Regions from separate parts of the Homo sapiens genome. Here regions 1, 2 and 3 are each linked to region 4. The links are contacts of gene promoters, found by promoter capture Hi-C in human tissues and cell types (Jung and others, 2019). All regions are on one chromosome and are shown on one strand. The core of a region is centred on a gene start or on the middle of the fragment in contact, and the rest is flanking DNA. Distances in the headings are between cores, read along the strand shown. Region 1 overlaps CNR2 (cannabinoid receptor 2). Region 2 overlaps LOC124903877 (a long non-coding RNA gene). Region 3 has its middle 38 kb from the start of GRHL3. Region 4 holds the start of IL22RA1 (interleukin 22 receptor subunit alpha 1).

The links. Contacts are between HindIII fragments. The study calls those that stand out against the background at their distance.
Region 1: a contact is called between a fragment that was not itself captured here and the fragment with the promoter of IL22RA1 in region 4, in 1 of the 25 tissues and cell types used here (mesenchymal stem cells).
Region 2: a contact is called between a fragment that was not itself captured here and the fragment with the promoter of IL22RA1 in region 4, in 1 of the 25 tissues and cell types used here (IMR-90 fibroblasts).
Region 3: a fragment that was not itself captured here is called in contact with the fragment with the promoter of IL22RA1 in region 4 in 2 of the 25 tissues and cell types used here (adrenal gland and bladder).

What each region holds. Positions count from the first base shown.
Region 1 is chr1:23,896,963-23,900,573 of GRCh38, forward strand. The region is part of intron 1 of CNR2 (cannabinoid receptor 2); the gene reads right to left. Among named protein-coding and RNA genes, the nearest start is that of CNR2, 15 kb to the right of the region's middle. RefSeq lists enhancers at 136-195, 246-375. The HindIII fragment of the contact is 4,502 bases long and covers 1-3,611 here.
Region 2 is chr1:23,949,602-23,953,741 of GRCh38, forward strand. LOC124903877 (a long non-coding RNA gene) reads right to left here. Exons shown (of 4, transcript XR_007065541.1): 3 at 3,469-3,475. Among named protein-coding and RNA genes, the nearest start is that of PNRC2, 8.2 kb to the right of the region's middle. RefSeq lists a silencer at 1-61. The HindIII fragment of the contact is 5,689 bases long and covers 1-4,140 here.
Region 3 is chr1:24,279,590-24,283,221 of GRCh38, forward strand. No RefSeq gene overlaps it. Among named protein-coding and RNA genes, the nearest start is that of GRHL3, 38 kb to the right of the region's middle. The HindIII fragment of the contact is 7,226 bases long and covers 1-3,632 here.
Region 4 is chr1:24,140,476-24,144,421 of GRCh38, forward strand. It overlaps IL22RA1 (interleukin 22 receptor subunit alpha 1), which reads right to left and starts at 2,665. Exons shown (of 7, transcript NM_021258.4): 1 at 2,565-2,665. The coding sequence starts at 2,607. The HindIII fragment of the contact is 7,521 bases long and covers 55-3,946 here.

The sequences.
Region 1 (3,611 bases), core at 777-3,276, 240 kb before region 4:
GCAGCTGCCTCCTTCCAGCTTCAAGCAATTTTCCTGCCTCAGCCTCCCAAATAGCTGGGATGACAGGTGCCTGCCACCATTTTTCTATTTTTAGTAGAGATGGGGTTTCACTATTTTGGCCAGGCTGGTTTTGAACTCCTGACCTCAGGTGATCCACCCGCCTCAGCCTCCCAAAGTGCTGGAATTACAGGTGTGAGCCACTGCACCCTGCCAGGAGTGGTTTTTTGATGAGATCTCAAAAGGTCCTTCAAACATGGCAGTTATGCAATTAATCACATGGGGCAGAAAACAGGGGTGTTGTCAGATTGCAAAAGAGCTGGCGAGAGAAAGGCAGATCACGAAAGCCTGGGGCAGAAGTTCTCAAACTTCGTGGTCTCAGCGACCCTTTACCGTCTTAAAAGTTACCTTGGCAATAAATAGCTTTTGTTGATGTAGGTTACACCTATTAGTACTTGCTGTATTAGAGACTAAAACTGAGAACTTAAAAAAAATTAATAATCCTATTGCATGTTAATAGAATTTTTTTTTTTGAGACCGAGTCTCAGTCTGTCACCCAAGCTGGAGTGCAGTGGTGCGATCTCGGTTCAATGCAAACTCTGCCTCCCGGTTTCAAGCAATTCTTCCACCTCAGCCTCCTGAGTAGCTGGGACCACCACACCTGGCTAATTTTTGTGTTTTTAGTAGAGACAGGGTTTCACTATGTTGGCCAGGCTGGTCTTGAACTCCTGACCTTGTGATCCACCCGCCTTAGCCTCCCAAAGTGCTGGGATTACAGGCATGAGCCACCACGCCCGCCCTGAAGTAACATATTTTTAAATGAAAATAACTTTTTGTGGCAAATCTCTTTAATTGTCTGGTTTATGAGAAGGCAGCTGGATTCTTATCTCTGCTTCAGCATGCAAACTGTTGCAATATGTTGTTGTGGTTTAACTATGTGAAGAAAATAAATTTGCCACTCTCTCCTGAGTGCTTCCTTTGTGGCAGGCACTGTGAAAGGCCTTTTACAAGCACTGTGTCCTTTTCTGTTGTTGTTCAAATCCATACTATATATTTATTTTTATTTTTATTTTTTGTTTGTTTTTGAGATGGAGTCTCACTCTGTCACCCAGGCTGGAGTGCAGTGGTGCGATCTTGGCTCACTGCAAGCTCCGCCTCCTGGGTTCACGCCATTCTCCTGCCTCAGCCTCCCAAGTAGCTGGGACTACAGGCACCCGCCACCATGCCTAGCTATTTTTTTATTATTTTTTTGTATTTTTAGTAGACACAGGGTTTCACCATGTTAGCCAGGATGGTCTTGATCTCCTGACCTTGTGATCCGCCCGCCTCAGCCTCCCAAAGTGCTGGGATTACAGGCGTGAGCCACCGCGCCCGGCTTTTTTTTTTTTTTTTTTTTTTTTGAGATGGAGTCTTGTTCTGTTGCCCAGGCTGGAGTGCAGTGGTATGATCTCAGCTCACTGCAAGCTCCGCCTTCCAGGTTCACACCATTCTCCTGCCTCAGCCTCCCAAGCAGCTGGGACTACAGGCGCCCACCACCACGCCCGGCTAATTTTTTGCATTTTTAGTAGAGACGGGGTTTCACCGAGTTAACCAGGATGGTCTCGATCCCCTGACCTTGTGATCCGCCTGCCTCAGCCTCCCAAAGTGCTGGGATTCAGGCTTGAGCCACCACGCCTGGCCAATTTTTTTTTTTTTTTTTTTTTTTTTTTTTGAGACAAAGTCTCACTCTGCTGCCCAGGCTGGAGTGCAGTGGCACGATCTTGGCTCACTGCAAGCTCCGCCTCCCAGGTTCAAGTGATTTTCCTGCCTCAGCCTCCTGAGTAGCTGGGATTACAGATGTGCACCACCATGCCCAGCTAATTTTTGTATTTTTAGTAGAGACGGGGTTTCACCATGTTGGCCAGGCTGGTCTCCAACTCCTGACCTCAGGTGATCCAACCACCTCCACCTACCAAAGTGCTGGGATAACAGGCGTGAGCCACCACACCTGGCCCGTACTATATATTATTTTTAAATGTTTTCATTCTATTTTTGATGGACAAATAATAATTGTATATATTTATGGAATACAATGTGATATTATGATACACGTATCAAAATTGCTAAAAGAGTAGATTTTAAATGTTACCACAAAGAAATGCGCTGTCTCCTTTATCCTCCAAACTGCCCTTGGAGATAGACTGTCTCATTTTCACGATCTTATCTATGAGGAACCAGAGGCTCAGCTAGACTGGATTTGCCGAGGTCACAAAGTTTGTAAATGGCAGAGTCAGAATTCAGACTCATATATCTGGTGCCAGACCCTGACCACAGAAGTTGGGCAGCCTAGATGTGAAACCACCTTTGCAAAATTATGACTGAGACTGTGAAAGAGATCTAACTTAACTGACTCCATCTTGCTTCTAACCTCCAAGGTGTCCTTGTTCATTCCTGGGCTGAACTAACTTTGGGAGAAACTTAGTTTAAAACTAAGACAATAACAGCCCTTTCCCAAAGTACACCTCCTTCTTGGCTGGGGACTAGATTGCCTTTGTAGGACTAATATTAGGCACAAGATTAGAAATTATGGTTTAGGGTCTGGTGTGGTAGTTCACGCCTGTAATCCCAGCACTTTGGGAGGCTGAGGCGGGTGGATCACTTGCGGTCAGGAGGTAAGACCAGCCTGGCCAACATGCTGAAACTCCGCCTCCACTAAAAATACAAAAGTTAGCCAGGTGTGGTGGTGCATGCTGTAATACCAGCTACTCGAGAGGGGGAGGCAGAAGAATCACTTGAACCTGGAAGGTGGAGGGTGCAGTGAGCTGAGATTGCGTCACTGCACTCCAGCCTGGGCGACAGAGGGGTCTCTGTCAGAAAGAAAGAAAGAAAAGAAAAAAAAGAAAGAAAAGAAAGAAAGAGGGAAGGAAGGAAAGAGAGAGAGAGAAAGAAAGAAAGAGAAAGAAAGAAAGAGAAAGAAAGAAAGAGAAAGAAAGAGAAAGAAAGGAAAGAGAAAGAAAGGAAAGAAAGAAAGAAAGGAAAGAAAGAAAGAAAAGAAAGAAAGAAAGGAAGGAAGGTTTAGGAGTCATGCAGCTGGAGGCTACAAGATTCTGACCCTCCCTAAACTGCTCCTGCGATCAGTGCTTGAGATACTTTGCAGACCCTGCACTTGATGGATCAGCTGGCACCACCCAAATCCATAAACTGGCTCATGTGATCTTGTGGCCCCCACCCAGGAACTGACTCAGCGCAAGAGGACAGCTTCGACCCCCTGTGATTTCATCCCTGGCCAATCAGCACTCCTGGCTCACTGGCTCCCCGCAACCAAACAAACTGTCCTTAAAAACTCTGATCCTTGAATGCTGGTGGAGACTGATTTGAGTAATAATAAAATTCCGGTCTCCCGCACAGCCAGCTCTGCATAAATTACTCTTTCTCTATTGCAATTCTCCTGTCTTGATGAATCGGCTCTGTCTAGGCGGCAGGCAAGGTGAACCCCTAGAGGCTTATAGACGGAGGGGCATGGGGTCTCTCTTATACTTCTGGGCAACCATCTCTTCCCTGATCTCTTTTTTTTTTTTTTTTTTTTTGAGACAGTTTCACTCTTGTTGCCCAGGCTAGGGTGCAATGGTGCAATC
Region 2 (4,140 bases), core at 790-3,289, 190 kb before region 4:
GGCTCACTGCAACCTCCACCTCCTGGGTCCAAGCAGTTCTCCTGCCTCAGCCTCCCGAGTAGCTGGGATTACAGGTGCACGCCACCAGGCCTGGCTAATTTTTGTATTTTTAGTAGAGACCGGGTTTCACCATGTTGGCCAAGCTGGTCTTGAACTCCTGATCTCAAGTGATCCACCTACCTCGGCCTCCCAAAGTTCTGGGATTACAGGCATGAGCTACCACGCCTGCCCTGTTTTTTGTTTTTGTTTTTTTTAAAAAGCAGGGTCTCACTCTGTTGCTCAGGCTGGAGAGCAGTGGCACAATCTTAGCTCACTGAAACCTTTGCCTCCTGGTTTCAAGTGATTTTTTTTTCCTGCCTCAGCCTCCAGAGTGGCTGGAATTACAGGTGCGCACCACCACGCCCGGCTAATTTTTGTATTTTTAGTAGAGACGGGGTTTCACCATGTTGGCCAGGGTGGTCTCGAACTCCTGACCTCAAGTCATCCACCTGCCTTGGCCTCCTAGATTTCTGGGATTACAGGTGTGAGCCACCATGTCTGGCCTTAACTATAGTTAAGGGTTGTAATCAGGGAGGAAGAAGGGCAGAAGACGGTAAGAAAGTTCCTACTTGACTAGAACTCTTGTGACATTTCCCTGGCCTGACAGATAGCTAAAGCTGCCTCTTTCTCTCATGGCACTTGTTCTTCAGCAAATTCTCTTCATGAGCTCTCTCGGCTGCAATTCCTTCACAGTGGGCAATGCTTCTCCTTAGGCTGATTGCTCCCTCAGCTTCTGCCTCTTAGTACAATATCTTGCTGTAAGACTGCCATTGCAGGGGCCACACTTGTGGGCTTTGAAAATAACTCTAGCCAGGCAGGTGGCTCACACCTGAAATCCCAGCACTTTGGGAGGCTGAGGCAGGCAGATCACTTGAGCCCAGGAGGCAGAGGTTGCAGTGAGCCGAGATCGCACCATTGCACTCCAGCCTGGGTAATAGGAGTGAAACCCTGTCTCACAAACAAACAAACAAACAATCAATCAAAGAAACAAAACACATGAGGATCTATAAATACTCTAGTTTTTTTTTCTTATTTTTTTCTAATCGGCAATGAGAATATACGTGCAATTTTACTGGCCAATGATAGCATGGAACCAGAAGGGTGGCTACCTCCCATTTAGAGCATACTGTATTCCGAGCGCTTCCTAGCAATATGGACCCTGAAGACTAGATCGGTGTAGCAGAGTGGCTAAGAGCAGGTTTTGGCATCAGGCTGACCCAGGTTCAAGTTCGAGGTATGTGACTTTGGGCAAATGACTTAGCCTACCTCTTTGAATCTCAGTTTACTCATCCATTTAATGAGGCAGTACTACTAGTGACCTCAGTAGGTTGTGATGAGAATTAAATAAGAATGCGTATCAATTGTTTAGGACAGGCCGATTCAATGGCTCATGCCTGTAATCCCAGCACTTTGAGGGGCTGAGGCAGGTGGATCACTAGAGCCTAGGAGTTCAAGACCAGCCTGGGCAACATGACGAAACCCTGTCTCTACAGAAAATACAAAAATTAGCCGGGCACGGTGGCATACACCTGTTGTCCCAGCTACTCGGGAGGCTGAGGCAGGAGGATTGCTTGAGCCCAGGAGGTTAATGCTGCAGTGAGCCGTGATCTCACCACTGCACTCCAACCTGGGTGACAGAGTGAGATCCTATTTAAAAAAAAAAAATTTTTTTTTTAAATTGCTTAGGACAGTGTACCTTGCTCATAGTAGAGTGCTCGATACTTATTGTTATTATTTAATGTGCAACACATTTGTAATATGCAAAGTATCATACCTTTGAATTGCATAAGTAACAGTTAAAACAAAACAAAATAAAGATATAACAGTCAAAGGCAAGGAGATGGTATAAATATTCAATCACGGTGAACTGGAATCAAGAGATCAGACTGAACTTGAGCAAGTTACTTCACCTCCTTTTGCCTTGGAAACTGTGGGCGAATGGCGACTCCTTTGTTGCCTGCTCTACCCAAGAGTGGAAGTCATGCCACGGTGTCACCTAGCAGTTTAATCATGTGTTAAGACTATGTCAATCTGTTCTTTTTTTTTTCTGCTGTGGCAAAATCCAGGCTCTCGGGCCATGGAAGCTTGACTCATAGTCTCTTTCCAAACCCAAGCCATCAGCCAGAGAACAAACACTGGCTTGCCTGACTCAGTGGAAATTCCAGACGTTTGTAGCTCATTAACTGCCAAATTGACAGCTATGGAGGCTGTGACGAATAAGTGGACCTCATTAGCTCCATGTTCCCCAGAAAAAGCTGTCCCACAGGCATACTTTGTACAAAGGCCATACGTAACACGTGATCTTTAAAAAAACCTTTTAAAATTCTTTTGACTATTTCCTGTCAAAAGAAATTCACCGCCAGGCGAGGTGGCTCATGCCTATAATCCCAACACTTTAGGAGGCCGAGGTGGGTGGGTCACCTGAGGTCAGGAGATCAAGACCAGCCCGACTAACATGGTGAAATCCTGTCTCTACTAAATACAAAAAATATGCTGGGCGTCATGGCACATGCCTGTAATCCCAGCTACTTGGGAGGCTGAGGCAGGAGAATCGCTTGAACCCAGGAGGTAGAGGTTGCAGTGAGCCGAGATTGTGCCATTGCACTCCAGCCTGGGCAACAAGAGTGAAACTCCGTCTCAAAAAAACAAAGAAATTCACCAACGTAAATTCACCAACTCCTCTTACAGATCCAATGTCAGGAAAGCAGCTATAAACAATAAGGACAGCGAACAGTATCCTCAAAGCCAGAAGCCTGGGACTGACTTTTAGCCTGATGGTGGGGGCATACACGGATACATAATTTCTGGAAAGTATTTGGTAATATGTATCAAAAGTCTTACCTGTATATTTACCTTGTGACCTAGTACTTTCACCCCTAAGAATTTATTTAAAGGAAATTTATTTACAGAAATGAAGATTTATTTATAGGGACATCCAACTCAGCATATAATAGCAAAAAATTGGAAATAACAGTGGAGAATAGTAAATTAATCAAAGATGGTCATAACATAAAATATGGCTAACAATGAATGTATATATACATGGAAACATGCTCACAATATCCTGAGTTTAAAAAGTGAAAAAAGGGGCGGGCGTGGTGGCTCACACCTGTAATCCCAGCACTTTGGGAGGCCAAGGTGGGTGGATCACATGAGGCCCAGGCGTTCAAGACCAGCCTGGCCAATATGGAGAAACGTCGTCTCTACTAAAAATACAAAAATTAGCTGGGCGTGGTGGCACATGCCTGTAATCCTAGCTACTCAGGAGGCTGAGGCAGGACAATCACTTGAACCTGAGAAGTGGAGGTTGCAGTGAGTTGAGATCATGCCACTGTACTCCAGTCTGGGCAACAGAGCTAGACTCTGCCTCAAAAAAAAAAAAAAAAAAAAAAAAAAAGTGAAAAAAGGTAACAATAGAATATATACCACTTTTCATCTTTGTAAAAAGGAAAAAAAAAGCTCAGTAACTAAGGGCTTTCTATGTGGCAGGCACTGTTCTAAGTACTGCAGAGATGTTGACTTACTTAATCATTACACAAATGTTAGGTATTGTTATTATCCCCAGTTCACAGATGGGGAAACTACAGCACGGAGAAGTTAAACAACCTGCCAAAGTCAGTCATATGCTAGAAAGCCACAGAGCTAAGGTGTGATGCTGAGCAGGTTTTGGTGTCTATGCCCCCACCACGACTCACACTGTCTCCTGGTATAGAAAAAAGACTGGAAGGACATACTTTCCAAGCGTTCACAATGCTTACTTCTGGGAAGTGAGATGTTGAGTGAATTCTACTTATTTTTTATCTGCCTTTTCTATAGTTAATGTGTTATTAATGAGACAAAACTCCAAAGAAAATGTTTAAAATACAAGACCTTTGTTGCAGAGGTGAACGAGTCTCTCTCAACCTCAGTTTCTTTATCTTTAGAGCAGCAACTGTGCCTACCTTATAAAGCTCATGGTAGGATTGAATGAAATAAAGCGAAAGCACTTGGATGACGTAGATTTAGAATATGTTAAAAAGATGTGTAGAAGATGTTAAAAATGCTAGGGGCTATTAAAATACAAAGTAGAGGCGGGGCGCGGTGGCGCTGAGCCTCAGTTTT
Region 3 (3,632 bases), core at 935-3,434, 140 kb after region 4:
GTACTTTGTAGATGAGGAAACTGAGGCTCAGAGAAGTTGAAGTTAAGCAAGTGGCCCAAAGGACCTCAGCCAATCCAAAAGCCTTTCTTGCTGCCCAGTCCTGACATCCCTGGTGGTGGTGAAAACAGGGGAAGCCTGAGGGTACTGATTAATCACCACCGTTTAATCTCGTTGAAAGCAGTTATTAAGTTGGTGCAAAAGTAATTGCGGTTCTTGCCATTACTTTTAATGGCAAAAACTCGTCAACTTTTGCACCAACCTAATACCATGTGGCAGGCACAGGGTCAAGCAATGAGTGTGTATGGTCTCCTTCCATCTCAACATCACCTCCCCTGAGAGAGATGTCATTATTCCTCCTAACAGAGGAGAAAACTGAGACCCATGGAGGTTACTTGTGTGATCCCACAGCTGCTAAGTGGCAGAACCAGAATTTGAACCCACATTTCTCTGTGAGTAAGACAGATGGTGAATTATTACCAAATATTGATTGAAGCAGGAGTTGGTAACATGACAAGTCTTTTAAAACCCAGTTTTATTAAGTACAATACACATATGTACAGAAAAGTGTAATATACATTATAGAAAAGTGCACCAATCATGAATTTTCACAATCTGAACACCGCCATCCATACCTAGGTGCAAAAGCAGAACTTTCCCAGTAACACACACCCCCTCACTCCCCTGTCCTGACCATTATCCTGACTTCTAATCTCATCAGTTCATTTTGTCCTTTAGCTAAATGAAATCACACATCGTGTGTCCTTTTGTGCCTGGCTTCTTTCATAATTATGTTTGTGTACAGGAAGCCTGTTTTTCAATGTTTTATTATGAAAGTTTTCAAACATCACAGCAAAAGTTGAAAGCATTTTATAGTGAATATCCTTAAACTCACCATTTAAATTCTATGAATGTTGTACTGTACTTGCTTTTCTTTCACATAAAGCCATCCCTCTAGACATTCATTAATGCTTCGACTTCATTATAAATTTTAAAGTAAATTGCAGACATCAATACAATTTCCTTAACTACTTCAGCATGCACATATATTTGCTCACAACTTTTATCCTTTTGATGTAAAATTTATATATGATGAAATGCACAAGTGCTTTTTATTGAGTTTTCATAAATGCATACACCTGTGATCCCAAACCCTCTCAAAATAAAGAATATTCCCCTCACTCCAGGAAGTTCCCTCATGCCCCTTCCCAGTCAATACTCTCCCCTCCAGCACACTAGGCAACCCACTGTACCAATATTTTTCCACAGTAGATTGGTTTTGCCTGTCCTGAAAATTCATATAAATGGAATGATACCTTATATAATCTCTCATGTAAGGCTTTTTTCATTCAATGTAGTGTTTTGAGATTCATCCATGTTGTTCCTGCATATCATTAATTCATTCCTTTTTATTAATGGGGAGTATTCTTTTGTAGGCCTATACTGCGGTTCGTTTGTCCATTTTCCTATTGATGGACACCCGGGCTGTTGACAATTTGGGGCTATTATGAGAAAGGTGCTATGTGCACTCTTCTACAAGGCTTTTTGTGAATTTGTGTTTTCATTTCTTTTGAGTAAATACTTAGGAGTACAACGACTGGGTCACAGGGTAGGTGTATGTTTTATTTTACAAAAAAATGACAGATCTTTTTCCAAGGTGGTGGTACCATTTTATTGCACCACCAACAATGTATCACTTTGTCACCAACAATGAATGAGAGTTCCAGTTGCTCCACAGCCTCATCAACATTTGGTCTAATTTTATTTTATTTTATTTTATTTTTGAGACAGAGTCTTGCTCTGTCACCCAGGCTGGAGTGCAGTGGCACGATTTCAGCTCACTGCAACCTCCACCTCCCAAGCTCAAGTGATCCTCCCACCTCAGCCTCCCAAGTAGCTGGGTCTACAGGCATGTGTGGCCATGCTGGGCTAAATTTTTGTATTTTTTGCAGAGACGGGGTTTCACTATATTGCCCAGGCTGGTCTCGAACTTCTGAGCTCAAATGATCCACCCCACTTCAGCCTCCCAAAGTGCTGGGACTACAGGCATGAGCTACCACACCTGGCTGGTATTGTCCATCTTTTTAATGTTTCTGGTAGGTATGTAGTAGCAGCTCACTGTGGTTTTAATTCACATTTTTATGAAAAAGCACCTCTTTCTCCAGATGGATACAGTTCCTTGCCAAGACTCACCGCTTAGCAAGCAGAGCACAGCCTGCCCAACGATCCATGGTGGCTGTGCTTCAGGTCTCCATTGTGCCTACTGGGCAAGATGAACAGGAGCCAGCCCTTGAAGTACTATCTTTATTTTAAAGAAAAATAGCATCTATAGTGGTTGAGAGTGGCCTCTGCAGTTAGATTGTCTGGGTTCAGACCCCAGCCTCACCACATACCAGCTGTGTGACAATGGACAAATTACTTCCCATTTCTAAGTCTTCATTCCCTCACATCTACTCATAAGTTTGTGGTGAAGATTAAATAAGATGGAACATGTAACATACCTAGCACAGAAAACACTAGTAAACATTAGTTGTTTTGTTATTGTTCTATCTGAGTAGAAAAGTTACATACAATTATCATAGAAAATGAAGAAAAGTAGAAAGAAGCTTAAAGTTACCATAACCCTGACATCCAAAGATAACTGTTATTAATATTTGGTGCATTTTTCTAGTATTTCTATATAGGATTAAAAATTTTTTTTTAATTTTTTTTTTCCACAGTCTCACTCTGTCACCTGGGCAGGAGTGCAGTGGCATGATTTTGGCTCACTGCAGCCTCAACCCCTTAGGTTCAAGCAATCCTCCTGCCTCAGACTACTGAGTAGCTGGGACCATAGGCACACACCACCATGCCCGGCTAATTTTTTCATTTTTTTGTGGAGATGGGGGGGGTCTCACTTTGTTGCCCAGGCTGGTCTGAAACTCCTGGGCTCAAGCTATTCCCCCACCTTGGCCTCCCAAAGTGTTGGGATTACAGTCGTGAACCACTGTACCCAGCCTGGAATTGTTTAAAAACACCAATGGCATCATACTCTGTATACAATTTCATACCCTCCTTTCTATATTTAACTCTATGTCATTAACATTTTCTCATGTCATTGCATGTTCTTCAAAACTCCACTCCTAAAGGCTGTGGAATGTTCCAGCAACAGGTGCTGCACTGTGTCAGGTGATAAAGCAGTGGGTTGAAGATCAGTGATTCCAGAAACAGTCTTGTATCCTCTTGACTACATGTGATTATTCCCTTAGGATATTTTTAAAGCCTTTGATAAACATTATCAATTTGGAGCACCAGATCAAAACCACATCTTTTCACTTTTTCCTAAATATAAAATTAATGCAGGTTATGAAAAGAAGAAATAATACATGATTGTGAAGAATAGAAAGTGAAAGCCCCCCTCCCTCCCCAATAATCTCACTAGTAAAGAAAAATCACTTTGATGTACATGCTTCCAGACCTTCTATTCCATACATATGCAACAGTAGATATAAGTATACTAACCCAAGAGTAGAAGGGGATGCTGGAGTCTGCCTGTGCCTGGTTCAAGTTCTGACTCTGCTGTGTATTCACTGTGTGACCTGGGGCGAGTTAATTCACCTCACTGTGCCCTGTTTTTAAAAATCGCTTCATTTGTT
Region 4 (3,946 bases), core at 1,415-3,914:
TTTAGGGAGGAGGAGAAGAGAGAGGAGAAGAGAAGCTGGCCATTGAAGAGTCCACAGCCCTCTCTTCCAGGCTAGGTCTTTGTCCAGCCCACTTCTGCTTCTGTTAAGGGAAGGGCAGTGAGGGCCTGAGCCTCAAGGAAGGGGCTGGGGAGGGGCTGCAGCCTCTAAAGCAATCTGCACTGTAAACAAAGAGTCCTTAACTTATAAAACCCTTCCCTCAGGCCCCCAGGCTTGGGCTGTGGAGAGCAAGAGCCTGCGGGAAAATGGCGGCCCAAGCTGGCAGCTGGCTCGGAGCTCGGAGGCCCTGGCCGGCTGGCGTGGGAAATAAACAGGTGGGAAAATGTTAAGCAACCCCAGCTGGGTCAAGGCCTTGCGGCCTGGGTGTGTGTCTTGAATATGTCTGTGCCTCTCCTTCCCCAGACACGTCTACGACTGCCAGTGGGCCCAAGGTGTGAGGGAGCAGACAGTTATTGATTCCCCTACTCCAACTCTACACACAAGAGGGGTCCTCAGGCTTGGCGAGGACCGATGGGGACGGAAGAATGGTCCGACCCCGCTGCACATCCTCTGGCCAACCTCGAAGGCTGCCCTCCTCTCTGAATTTGGGTTCTGGCCCAGCAGCTGCAAAATGTCTTCAGGCTTCCTGGAGTCCCCAGAATGGGGCCTTAGGGATGGCGCGGGGAGGGGTCTACTGCCTCTACGCAAGGTGACGGCTGTGCCGTGGAGCCTTAGGATGTAGCTGACATCTTGTTTGGATGTGAGGCTGGGTGGAATTGGGGTCAGTTCTGGAGGGAGGGGTCCTGGATTCAGGGCTGAGTCTAAAGTTGAGGAAAGGAGTCCAGTCAAGGTCAGACCTGAACAGTGGCTTCTGGTTGGGTGGTGGGTCAGGGCAGAAGGGTGAGGGTGGGCTTTGAGAAGCCAGGCTCCATCAAGGCTTGGGGTAGAGTCTGCAGCGGGAACGGTTGCTGGTTGAGGTCAGTGTTCTGGGTGGGAAATAGAGGGCCCATCTGGGTTGCAAGGAGGCTGGTGGCTGAGGTGGGGGCATGTTGCCAAGGCAAAGGACCCTGGGCTACGTGGAGGTTGGCACCACTTTTCAGGAGGGAACTGCAGTTAGCTTCCTGAAGTGGGGTAAGTGAACCTAGGCCCACTCCTGTCTTTTAGGGATGTCAGGGTCTAACAAGATCTCCCCCTCTTCTCCCACCCTCCTCGCTCCTTTTCCTCCTCAAATCTATCATCCATTCCTCAGCCTGTGTTGCTTCGGCACTTCCCGGGTGAAAGTCTATATTGTGAAATCTGGGGAGACATGTGTTGTGTGGAGCCTGGCAGCCTGGCGGATTTATAAAAGGCAACTTGTTTTTTCACATTCATGTGGAAAAACAATGTTCTGTCAACCAGCTGGGAAGCTAAGGAAAAATACACAAACAAGAAACAATTCCACATGCTCTGGAGTCAGCCTAAGATTGGGGGGGTGAGGGCCCGGTGTGTGCAGCGCGAGGCAGCTGACCCTTGACAATCTCCTAAGGGCTATTTCTTGGGGTCCCCCATCTCAAAGGGCTGGGAGCCTCTAGGATTTCTAACCAGTATGGCTGAGGGTCTAAAGGGACGTGTCTTGGTGCCTCAAGGGGGTGCCTCACATCTTCCTGGAACGCCCAGCTTGATGCTGGGAAGCAGACTGGAGGGGGTCCCACAGAGCTGGAAGCCCTGGAGACGCAGGCAGCCCTGGCGGGACAGTGGCAGAGAAGGTGGGAAGCTCTGCCTTTTCGTGGGCCTCGTCCTGCACTTGAGCAAGGAGGGCCTGGCCGAGGCCATACCTGCTCGCCATCCTCAATCAGGACTATGCTTTGACTTCCTAAGGAAGTTCCCTGAATTTCATGCAATGCACCAGGAGAGCAGAGAGAGAGTCTAGGGTCTCATGTAACGTTCTCCATAATGATGAGCCCCCCACTCCGCTCACTTTATTGGCTTTGAACACTATGCCCTTAAGACCTGTTTCCAAATGAGTCCTGTGTCTTAAGACCTATTAATGTAGCAGACCTGGCCACTCTAGGAGAAAATGCTCTTTCAGATCTATGATAACAAAAGGGGCCAAAGAGGCCCTGCAGGGGCATGGAGGGAGGCAATAGTGAACTCAAGCTTCGTTTCCCCCGGTCCTTCCTCCTCCTCCCCTGTCAGGCCAGTGCCAAGTGAGAGGCAGAGGAAGGATGGTACAAACTGTGCCGACACCGTTTGAGGGACCGAAGGATGTCTGCCTCCTCCAGGCCAATTCTCCATTCACTGAGGTGCAGCGATCCAGCACCCCCAGTTCAGACAGCTGGCTATATCCCTCAAGACCCGAGGGTCCTTTGGGTCCCTGGAAGAACCCAGGGTCTGAGGCACCCTCTCATGCCCCCAGCAAACTAAGCTGGGCATTTGCTTCTCCGTGAACACCCGGCACCCTGCTCAGCCCTAGCAGGGGAGAAACTGAAACTGGCTATGCTCGGGCTGGGGAGGGTGCTGGGGAGATGACCCTGATCGTTGGCCCCTGGGATAAGGGAGGTCTGACCACAGGGTAGATGGGCACTCACCAGCCAGGGATCCCACAGTCAAGATGGTCAGCAGCGTCCTCATCGGGGCTGGCACAGAGCCCTCCCTTGGCCTCTACTCTGCCGTGCACAGAGAGAGGGCTGGGAGTCTTGGCGCCCTGGCAGCTGGCTCCACCCGGGCATGGGGCGGGGAGAAGGGGGTGGGTGGGACCTGTGCCGGTGGGGAGCAGGGGTACAAAGGTGTCCTGGCCCTGTGTGCTCTGGAATTCCAGGTTCTGGGCGGGATCTAAGGGAGTTCCCTTCCGACTTGCAGAAAACAGCAATAGTAACAGGCTGGCTTGTTTATCTGGTCCGGTGGCTGATTCATCCCAAGTGGTTTATCAAGGAGCTGAGGGGCAGAAAAGGCAAGAATAATCCACGATATGCAGCCTTATCAAAAAGCAATTTGGCACTGTGGATCAAAAGCCTACACCACATACATATCTTTTGCTTTAATAATTCTATTCCTAGGGGATTTACCCTGATGAAAATAACTGGACAACAGAGGGGGAAAAAAAAGGTCCCAGAATGTTTCTTGCAGCAAAGGAAAAGCTGTGACTCCTTTGCTTTTCTGGCAGGAGGAGATTGAGGGCACCCGATGCTCCTCCTTGATCCTCCATATCAAGGCAGGTCCCCACGCTTGGGGTGGGCTTGGGAACAGCTCTCCCCTAGAGAGGCCGTTGGGGGTGAGGAAGCCCAGCCGCTCTTACCTTGAGCCTTTGGGTCTAGGATCTGCAAAAGTTTAGAAAAAAAATGGAACTCAAACTTCAGTGATTCTTTCTGCTGTGCTAGAGATGGGGCTGAACTTCATGAATGGGGCTTTGGTTCGGGACGATGAAGATTCAGGCTGCTCTCCCATCATTTTGCCACGTAGGGCAGGATCTGCACATGAGCTTCGTGTGAATGAAGGGACAGGTGTTTAGGAAATGGTTTTCTCCTTCCTGCAGGGCCTGGAGAAGGTAGAAGGGCCCTGGGGCCTGGACTCTGGTCAGGGTGGACACGATTGGAGGGTCCTGCCCCTGGGGAGAGTTTGCCTGGCCCCAAGCACACAAAGGCAAGCGAAATTTTAGCAGGGATCCTGCCAACGGGTTGGGTGTAATGGGCTGTGATATGCTGAGATCGGTGTTTAAGTTTTTCTTTCCTGAATTGTAATTGTTATCAGCCCTGATTGCTAAAGTTTGTTTGACAAAACAGCCAAATCTAAGCTGTGCTTTGGAGGAATTAAGGTAGGGCCCATGCCAGTCATTTCCTGAAACTGCAGGAAACTACATTTTCTAGACTCCTTTATCAACTGCTTTCTGATAGGTTTAGCCCCTGGGGGAAGACTGGGGAGGCAGAGATCAGAGCATTTCTCCCCTCGTTTTCTGTTTGAGTGGCTTCCCCAG